Linked DNA regions of Homo sapiens: all the other regions are linked to region 3. Evidence: promoter capture Hi-C in human tissues and cell types (Jung and others, 2019). All regions are on one chromosome and are shown on one strand. Each heading gives the region's core, a stretch centred on a gene start or on the middle of the fragment in contact. The rest is flanking DNA. Distances are from core to core; before and after follow the strand shown. Region 1 holds the start of LINC02434 (long intergenic non-protein coding RNA 2434). Region 2 has its middle 48 kb from the start of TRIML2. Region 3 holds the start of TRIML2 (tripartite motif family like 2).

What was found. The method cuts DNA at HindIII sites, captures the fragments that hold promoters and counts their contacts. A contact is called where the count stands out against the background at its distance.
Region 1: a fragment that was not itself captured here is called in contact with the fragment with the promoter of TRIML2 in region 3 in 1 of the 25 tissues and cell types used here (spleen).
Region 2: a fragment that was not itself captured here is called in contact with the fragment with the promoter of TRIML2 in region 3 in 2 of the 25 tissues and cell types used here (H1 embryonic stem cells and hippocampus).

Annotation. Positions count from the first base shown.
Region 1 is chr4:188,157,384-188,160,575 of GRCh38, reverse strand. It overlaps LINC02434 (long intergenic non-protein coding RNA 2434), which reads right to left and starts at 523. Exons shown (of 2, transcript NR_187427.1): 1 at 474-523; 2 at 1-75. RefSeq lists an enhancer at 127-1,326. The HindIII fragment of the contact is 3,258 bases long and covers 1-3,133 here.
Region 2 is chr4:188,060,374-188,063,214 of GRCh38, reverse strand. No RefSeq gene overlaps it. Among named protein-coding and RNA genes, the nearest start is that of TRIML2, 48 kb to the left of the region's middle. The HindIII fragment of the contact is 3,324 bases long and covers 1-2,841 here.
Region 3 is chr4:188,107,924-188,110,917 of GRCh38, reverse strand. TRIML2 (tripartite motif family like 2) reads left to right here and starts at 1,315. Exons shown (of 8, transcript NM_173553.4): 1 at 1,315-1,675. RefSeq lists enhancers at 2,284-2,802, 2,803-2,994. The HindIII fragment of the contact is 13,208 bases long and covers 1-2,994 here.

The DNA.
Region 1 (3,192 bases), core at 255-2,754, 49 kb before region 3:
AGGCCAAGAAACCTCGAGCTTTTCTTCTCAAACAGGTTTACAGAACCAGTGTTTCCTTTCTGAGAAGCGAGACAACTGGGAGACAGGGAGGGTTGGGGGAAAGGAGAGTGACAATTGGAAGGAGAGGGGCACAATTTGGAGGGACAAAACGGGGAGCTGAGAAAAACAGCCTCCGAAAGCAGCCGGACCCTGCAAGGACCCTCCCACACCGCACCTCACTCCTCTCACACACACACCCCTCACCTAGAGGAGAGTCACCTCTCCAGAGCACCTGGGCCTTCATTCCCATCTGCAAGAGGGCAGGGCTCCCAGATACTCTGTGATGACGCGTGGGCCCCACCAAAATAGAACCGAACAGAACTGGTGGAGAAAGAATTTGTTTGAAATTTGTGGATCCACCATCACTGTGAAAAACACACCCCAGAAAGCAAATCACCACTCTAGACACTGACTTACAATGCAGAGGAGTTTACCATTTAGACCGGAAGGAGGTGAACGCGTGAGTCGATGCGGAGTTCACTGTTCAGACCGGAAGGAGGTGAACCCGTGAGTCCATGCGGAGGAGTTCACTGTTCAGACCGGAAGGAGGTGAACCCGTGAGTCGATGCGGAGGAGTTCACTGTTCAGACCGGAAGGAGGTGAACCCGTGAGTCCATGCGGAGGAGTTCACTGTTCAGACCGGAAGGAGGTGAACCCGTGAGTCGATGCGGAGGCGTTCACTGTTCAGACCGGAAGGAGGTGAACCCGTGAGTCCATGCGGAGGAGTTCACTGTTCAGACCGGAAGGAGGTGAACCCGTGAGTCGATGCGGAGGCGTTCACTGTTTAGACCGGAAGGAGGTGAACTCGTGAGTCCATGCGGAGGCGTTCACTGTTTAGACCGGAAGGGGTGAATGGGTGAGTTGATGCGGAGGAGTTCACTGTTCAGACCGGAAGGAGGTGAACCCGTGAGTCCATGTGGAGGCGTTTACTATTTCAACAGGAAGCGGATGATGAATCCCTGAGTCAAATGAAAGACAATGTTTGAAACTCTCAGGAATGTTTAGGAAGGCGTCATAAGAGATGAAGAGTGAGGGAATCAGAAACTCAGAAGGACCAGATTTGGGGCAGTATGCTTCGAGGCTGTTTTGTCCAGCCAACCCAACGCTGGAATCACCCCAAAAGCAGCGGCGGGGGAATTCCCACAAGGGAGTACTCTGAACTGTTCCAGGATGGGGTCGATTGGGATTCCAAAGAAAGAAGCCCTCATCAGCAGGGTGCTCAGTTCAGAGCAGTTATGAGGGGAGCTTACAGAGGCCACAGCGATCCTTGGAGAGAAAGGGGTGCTCTGTATGGACACAGGGAGGGGAACAACACACACTGGGGCCTGTCGGTGGGGCAGGGGGAGGGAGAACATCAAGATAAATAGTGAATACATGCGGGGCTTAAATACCTAAATGACGGGGTGATAGGTTCAGCAAACCACCGTGGCACATGTTTACCTATGTAACAAACCTGCGTGTCCTGCACATACATTCCAGAACTGAAAATTAAATTACATTTTTAAAAAGTATTTATATAATAACCAGAAAAAAAAAAAAGAGAGACTGGGCACAGTGGCTCAAACCTGTAATCCCAGCTCTTTGGGAGGCTGAGGCGGGCGGATCACCTGAGGTCAGGAGTTCAAGACCAGCCTGGCCAACGTGGTGAAACCCCGTCTCTACTAAAAATACAAAAATTAGCAGGGCGTGGTGGTATGCGCCTGTAATCTCAGCTACTCAAGAGGCTGAGACACGAGAATTGCTTGAACCCGGGAGGCAGAGGCTGCAGTGAGCTGAGACCACTCCACTGCACTTCAGCCTGGGTGACAGAGTGAAACTCCATCTCAAAAAAAAGGTGTTCTACCTGCGTGTGTCTGCAGTGAGGGGTTCAGGGATTATGGAATGTGAGAGTTTTAAGAAATTTGGTTAGGGGCCAGGGCCAGTTTCTTTCCGTGTTTCGGGCGACAACCTCGAGACCTTAATGAGTGTCTGGGAATGTTCGAGACTCCGGTTTGGGCCCGGTTTGGGTTTGGGCGTGCTGGGAGAAGCTTGCACCTGGCTGGGTGAAGAGCTGTCAGGACACTCTGTGATTCTTGGTCAGGGCACAGAAAGAAAGTGAAGTAGGGGAGAAGGGTTACTGGGGGACCCCACAGAGGCCATTGCAAAACTGGTGAGGTAGAGTTTCCGTAAGGACAGTAAGGACAGAACCAGGACCCCCAGGCAGAAATGGGAGGAATAGAAGGCAATATTCCGACCTCAGTTTCAGGTTCTTGGTCAGAACTGTGAGGAATCAGGGCAGTGTCTAAAACCTCAAACAGCGTCATGCTAGTGTAGACGTCCAAGCTTGGTGAGGAGCGATTCATAGTTAGCACTGTTGAGTGCTTACACCTGAAATTAAGTGATGCTCCAAGTACAAGTGTTATGTCATTTCATGCATACGACAGCCCTAGACAGCCCTGTGAAGCAGTATTATTTCCTTTTTTTTTTTTTTTTTTTTTGAGAGAGGGTATCGCTCTGTCGCTCAGGCTGGAATGCAATGGCACAATCACGGCTCACTGCAGCCTCGACCTCCCAGGCTTAAGTGATGCTCCCACCTCAGCCTCCTTAGTAACTGGGACCACAGGTGTGTGCCACCATACCTGGCTCATTCTTTTTATTTTTGGTAATAGTATTACTTGGGGTCTCACTATATTGCCCAGGCTGGTCTTGAGCGGGGCTCAAGCGATCCTCCTGCCTGGGCCTCCCAACTTGCTGAGGTTACCATGTACTGGCCCGGATATTATTTTCAAACACATTTTCCTGATGAGGGGACTGAGGCATGGGGAGACAAGCTGGTACAGTTAGTAAGTGGTGAGTGGTGGAGCTGAGATTTGAACCCAGCAGACCTGGCTTTACTGCCTTTGTGCTTCATCTTCGTATCTGGCTAACCCAGAGGCAGATGTACAATGGAGCTAGAGAAACTTAAGTTTCAGGCCCTTATTTATTTGATACTCTCTAAGACACTGGGCCTAATTTTATCATTTGTAATTTTTAAATTATTTTTTCTTTTTTTTTTTTTTGAGACAGAGTCTCTCTCTGCCACCAGGCTGGAGTGCAGTGGCGCCATCTCGGCTCACTGCAACCTCTGTCTCCCGGGTTCAAGTGATTCTCCTGCCTCAGCCTCCCAAGTAGTTG
Region 2 (2,841 bases), core at 243-2,742, 48 kb after region 3:
CCCTGCCCCAAATTTTTGTATGATATTTCTATGCTGTAAATCTGCCAGGGACTTTTCATCTCATTCAGACTAAAAGTCAGAGTCTTATAATGGCCTACAAGGGCCCCAAGGGTGATCTGGACCCTCATGTCCCACCTCCACCCCCACTAGGGCATTATCTCCCATCTCCCCTCCTCAGACTGAACTCTCTGCTGCAGTAACTCCAACTCCCCTGTTCTTCAAACACACAACACGCACTGCCAGTCGAGGCCCTGACACATGCTGGCCATTAGGCCTGGAATACCCTCCCGGAAACAGCCCCACGGCTCCTACCCATGCTGCTTCCATCTAATGCTCAATAACAATTTTAACAGGAATTTTTTAAACTAGAAATCTGATTCTGAAGAAGGTATGGAAAAATAAGTGAATAAGAATAACAGGCAAAAGTATAAATCTGAGAAATACTTTATGCAAGTAATTAGCCCTACAAGATAATAAAACAATAATAATTAGGCTGGGTGCAGTGGCTCACGCTTGTAATCCCAGCACTTTGGGAGGTCAAGGCAGATGAATCACAGGGTCAGGAGTTCGAGACAAGCCTGGCTAATATGGTGAAACCCCATCTCTACTAAAAATACAAAAATTAGCTGGGCGTGGTGGCAGTTACCTGTAATCCCAGCTACTTGGGAGGCTGAGGCAGGAGAATCACTTAAACCTGGGAGGCAGAGGTTGCAGTGAGCAGAGACTGGGCCACTGCACTCCAGCCTGGGAGATAGAGCGAGACTCCGTCTCAAAATAAATAAACAAATAAGTAAATAAATAAATGAATAAAATAATAATAATAACATTGAAAACACAGTATTACTAGAATATGAAGATATAGACTCATCAATGAAACAGAATGAAGTCCAGTAAAAGACTCAAATACATATGGAAATCTAGTATTGATAAAGGTGATATTTCAAATCAATTGAGAAAGATGGATTATTCTACAAATAGTGTTGCAACAAGAGGAGCTATTTGAAGAAAAAAATTAATTGTATCTCTACCTCACACTTTAAACCAAAATAAATCCCAATGTTCACATACTTACACTTCAAAACTGATACCATAAAAGTGCTAAAAGAAAACACAGTTGAATACTTTTATAAAATTGGAATATATTAGCCTCCTCAGTATATTAAACTCAAAAACAACAAAAATCACAGATTGATTTGACTTTTAAAATAAGGCCGGGCGCAGTGGCTCACGCCTGTAATCCCAGCACTTTGGGAAGCCGAGACAGGCAGATCACCTGAGGTCAGGAGTTAGACACCAGCCTGACCAACATGGAGAAACCCTGTCTCTACTAAAAATACAAAATTAGCTGGGCGTGGTGGTGCATGCCTGTAGTCCCAGCTACTCGGGAGGCTGAGGCAGGAGAATCGCTTGAACCTGGGAGGCGGAGGTTGAGGTGAGCTGAGATCGTTCCATTCACTCCAGCCTGGGCAACAAGAGCAAAACTCTGTCTCAAAAAAAAAATTATAATAATAATAATAATTAAAATTTTTCACATAACTAAAAATTTAAAATAATAAAGATGAAATAAATGTTAAATTAGAAAGCAAATATATGTCTTATATCATAGACAAGAAACTAACTTAATCTATGAGATGCTTTTTCAAATGAATGAGGAAACAAACAGGAAAATAGGCAAAGAATGTAAGAAGTAGTTTACAGAAGAATGTAAATTGTTCTTAAGCTTATAAAAGATGTTCTTAATAAGGAAAATGCAAACTAAATCTACCGGAGATAACGTTTCTTACCCTTGAATTTGTCAGTAATTCAAAATGTTGACAACCTACTTTGGGCAAGGCTGCAGAAACAGAGGCCCGCTGGGACCACAGTCTGTGGGACCGTGAAGCTCTCTGGCTCCACCGCGGTCCGTGGCACCGTGAAGCTCTCTGGCTCCACCACGGTCCGTGGCACCGTGAAGCTCTCTGGCTCCACCACAGGGGCCTCTGTGTGTGTTCTCCCAGGCACTTCCACTTAGAGCTTCCTTTGTTAACGCCTAGTTAATGCTGATGCATTCGTCCGAGCCCACTTCAGCATCATCTCCTCAAGGAACCCTTCCCTGACCTGGCTTCCATCCCCAATCCTCTCCTGCCCTGCATGCTCATAATACTTATTCATAGCACCTCTCAAAAAGGGTTATTTATTCATCTGGCACTTGCTTTTCTCACTCAAAGTCAAAATTTACAAGGTCAAAATCTTTAGCGATCCTTTCCTCCAATATTTGGCTCCTACTGGGTGTAGTTGCATGGCAATTAAAGAATAAACTTTTAGTTATCTGTGCCATTTCATTACGTTCTCTCAGCCTCTGTTGTCTCAAGAAAATATAAGCGTCCTTGGGAGATTGTGACTGTTAAATGAGATATAAAGTCCATAACATAATGCTTGACACAGAGTAAACCCTCAACACAGGGAAGCTATACTAATATTTAATTATAATTATCATTACCAAGGCAATGTGTGCCTGGTTGGGACAGATTAACATGTGCCAAGCTTCAGTTGTTGGTTTTCTTTTTGTTTTTGTTTTTGTTTTGAGATGGAGTCTGGCTCTGTTGCCCAGGCTGGAGTGCAGGGGCGCGATCTCGGCTCACTGCAAGCTCCGCCTCCCGGGTTCACGCCATTCTCCTGCCGCAGCCTCGGTTGTGCTCACCTCTGCTCCACTACTGTTGCAGTGGCTATGTTCTGTCGAAACTCTTATTTACTGAATATTTTACTTTCAGTGACTAACTTCTTTAAATTAAATGTCTACTTTAACCTCACACAAAATTAATCTCTGCAAAAGTATTAGTTTTTTATGTATTTTCTGCAATA
Region 3 (2,994 bases), core at 66-2,565:
TGACAGAGTATCTGACAACAAGTATGTGTGAGTATCTTCACAGACGTTGGCCGTACCCAGGCTTAGAAGAGAAAGGAAGATTGGATTAGAAAAATAAGAGAAGTAAAGGAGGATGGACTGGCTGAGGAGGGGAGGGGGCACAGGAATAAATGTGGTCTATTTGAAGAAAGCTGGGGAATTGGGTTTTGGAAAAGAGAGTGGGTGTAGGTAATCATCTGAGATAAGAGAAAGGGTGTATGGCCAGGCGCGGTGGCCAGAACTTTTGGAGGCCAAGGAGGGTGGGTCACCTGAGGTCAGGAGTTTGAGACCAGCCTGGCCAACATGGTGAAACCCCATCTCCACTAAAAATACAAAAATTAGCTGGGTGTGGTGGGCGCCTATAATCCCAGCTACTCGGGAGGCTGAAGTGGGAAAATTGCTTGAACCTGGGAGGCGGAGGCTGCAGTGAGCCGAGATCGCTCCACCGCACTCCAGCCTAGGCAACAGAGTGAGACTCTCATCTAAAAAAAAAAAAAAAGAAAGAAAAAAGAAAAAGAGAAACGGTGTATTGAGATTCCATAAGGTAGAACCAGGTTCTGAAAGATCAGATAAGCAAAGCAGAAGAATTCTCATTATCCTGTCAGCAGCATAAAGAAAAAAACTCCCTGGTTTGATTAGCAGGGGATTGACTGACTGATGCAATAAAAACCCTCGGGGACAAAACTATAAAACTTAGAAAGCTGTGAAGAGTTCCTCCTCACTGAAGCCAAATATCAAGTATGAATTATCTGGGATTGTTCCCTGACCTCCCATCTGTGACAGATTCCATAGGCAGTTATCCCTACTCTTGGTTTTTCTTTCCACAGATACTGGAATGAACACTTCTCCAGCAAACGTTCTAGAAACTAACAAGTCAGGCATTATTTTCTACTAAGGAACAAACACAGTCTTGAGTGTTAGCTCGAAGGCTTCTTTCCTGTGAAATTGTCAATATACACTAGATTCATTAAGAAAGAAAACCCCAAACCTTAAGGAGCTAGAGGTGTTAGGCACTGTACATGGCACTGGAGATAAAACAAGATATTTATCCAACCAAGGTCAGGGCTATTAAGCATTTTCTGGGAGTCCATTAAAAATGTAAATTACGGACCCCACCGTAGATTTCTGGAATCAGAGACCCTGTGAAGAGGCTTGCGTTTTAATAAACTCAGGTGGTTCTAATGAGATTAATTGTGTGAATATGATAAGAAACTTCACAGACGCCTTCCTGATGGTGTGAGGGCGGGGCTGAGGGAGGAATTGAACAGATAAAATCTCTTCAGTCTCCACTGTTCCAGCTTTTTCCCTAAAGGAAATACCTTGGTTCGGTGTGGTGACTCATTCCTGTAATCCCAGTACTTTGGGAGGCTGAAGCAGGCAGATTGCTTGAGCCCAGGAGTTCAAGACCAGCCTGGGAAAAATACTGAAACCCCGTCTCTACAAAAAATACAAAAATTAGCCGGGTGTGGTCGTGCAGCGCCTGTAATCCCAGCTACTCAGGAGGTCAAGGTGGGAGAATCACTTGAGCCTGGGAGCTCGAGGCTGTAGTGAGCCGAGATTGCGCCACTGCATTCCAGCCTGGGTGACAGAGCAAGACCCTGTCTCAAAAAAAAAAAAAAAAAAAAAAAAGGAAATACCCAGGATTGCTACAAAGAAAGTAAGTGAGATTTTCTCTATAGATCATTTTCTTAATAATTGTTTCTTTAGATTTCTAAACTTGATCTTAGAATCTATGTGTGTGTGTGTGTATCTGTGTGTTATCAGGAAAAAGCCTGAAGAAAAATATTAGGAAAAACAAAATAAGGGTAGACAACATGCTGGGGACTTAATTCGTCAATTTTCCTTTGCTGTTTCTGTAAAAATATTTAGTCTCTGTCCCTCTCTCATTACACCTTCAATTTTTACTGGTTTAACATAAAATATCGTTTACAATATTTATTGTGCATCGAGTATGTCAGATGTAGACACAGGGCATCTCAAGGACTTAGTTTCTTATGGATGGAGAGTGACCCACAAGTAAACTTGTTCATAGAAAGATAAAATCTTTTCGCTACTAAGAAAATAAAATAAGGAGATGAGTAGTGGGAAGGTATTTCAAATTGAGTAGTGATGGAAAGGTCTCTCTTGGGAAGACATTTGAGCTGAGAACTGAAGAGAAGAAAGAAGAGGCAGCTGGAATTGCAAAAATATGAGAGAAGAGCTCTGTTGGCCACGGAAGGGGGAAGGGCTGTGATGAATTAGAGGCAGCTAGATTGACAGTGATGGGGGAAAGCTATAGAGAGATCAGAAGAAGGCAGGAGGCCAGATTGTATAGGACGGGGTTATTACCCACTTCGATCTTACTCTAATGCCATAGAAAGTGACCACAAACCTGCTCACTTGGTTTTGGTTTTAAAATAGTATTCTGGTGGTTGAGCAGAGAGGAGCTGGAGATGGACGAGGAGGGCAGGACAGAATATAAATTTGGAAAACAATAGTTGAATTGGTGAAAGGAAGGCTTAAACTGTGGCTCTAAAGGAATGAGTTTGGGGGAAGAGAGCCACTGGGTTGAGATCCTGAGCGGCTTTAGATATGTTAATTTTGAGTGCTCCTTAGACATTCTATTGCAAAAATGTTGGGAATTGGGCAGGAGATTGAAATCGGAGAATGGAACTTAAATCTTCAGAAACGAGTAAGATTACCTAGGGAGAGACCAGGACTGGGAGACCAGAACTCAACCTTGAAGCACCCCAAGATTGAGAGGTTCAGAGGATGTGGGACCAGAAAAGGCCACGGAGAACAAGACCAGACAAGTTAGAGGAATGTCAGCTGCAGACAGATGAGAGAAGAAAACATTCTAGGAAGAAGGGTGTGGTCAGCTATGTTAACTGCTGCTGAGAGCTCAAGGAAAAATTTGAGTTGGTGAATTTCTTTGTTTTGGTGACTCAGTGGAGTCATCTCGGACATGTTCAGGGACCTAAGACACGGGAAACCAGC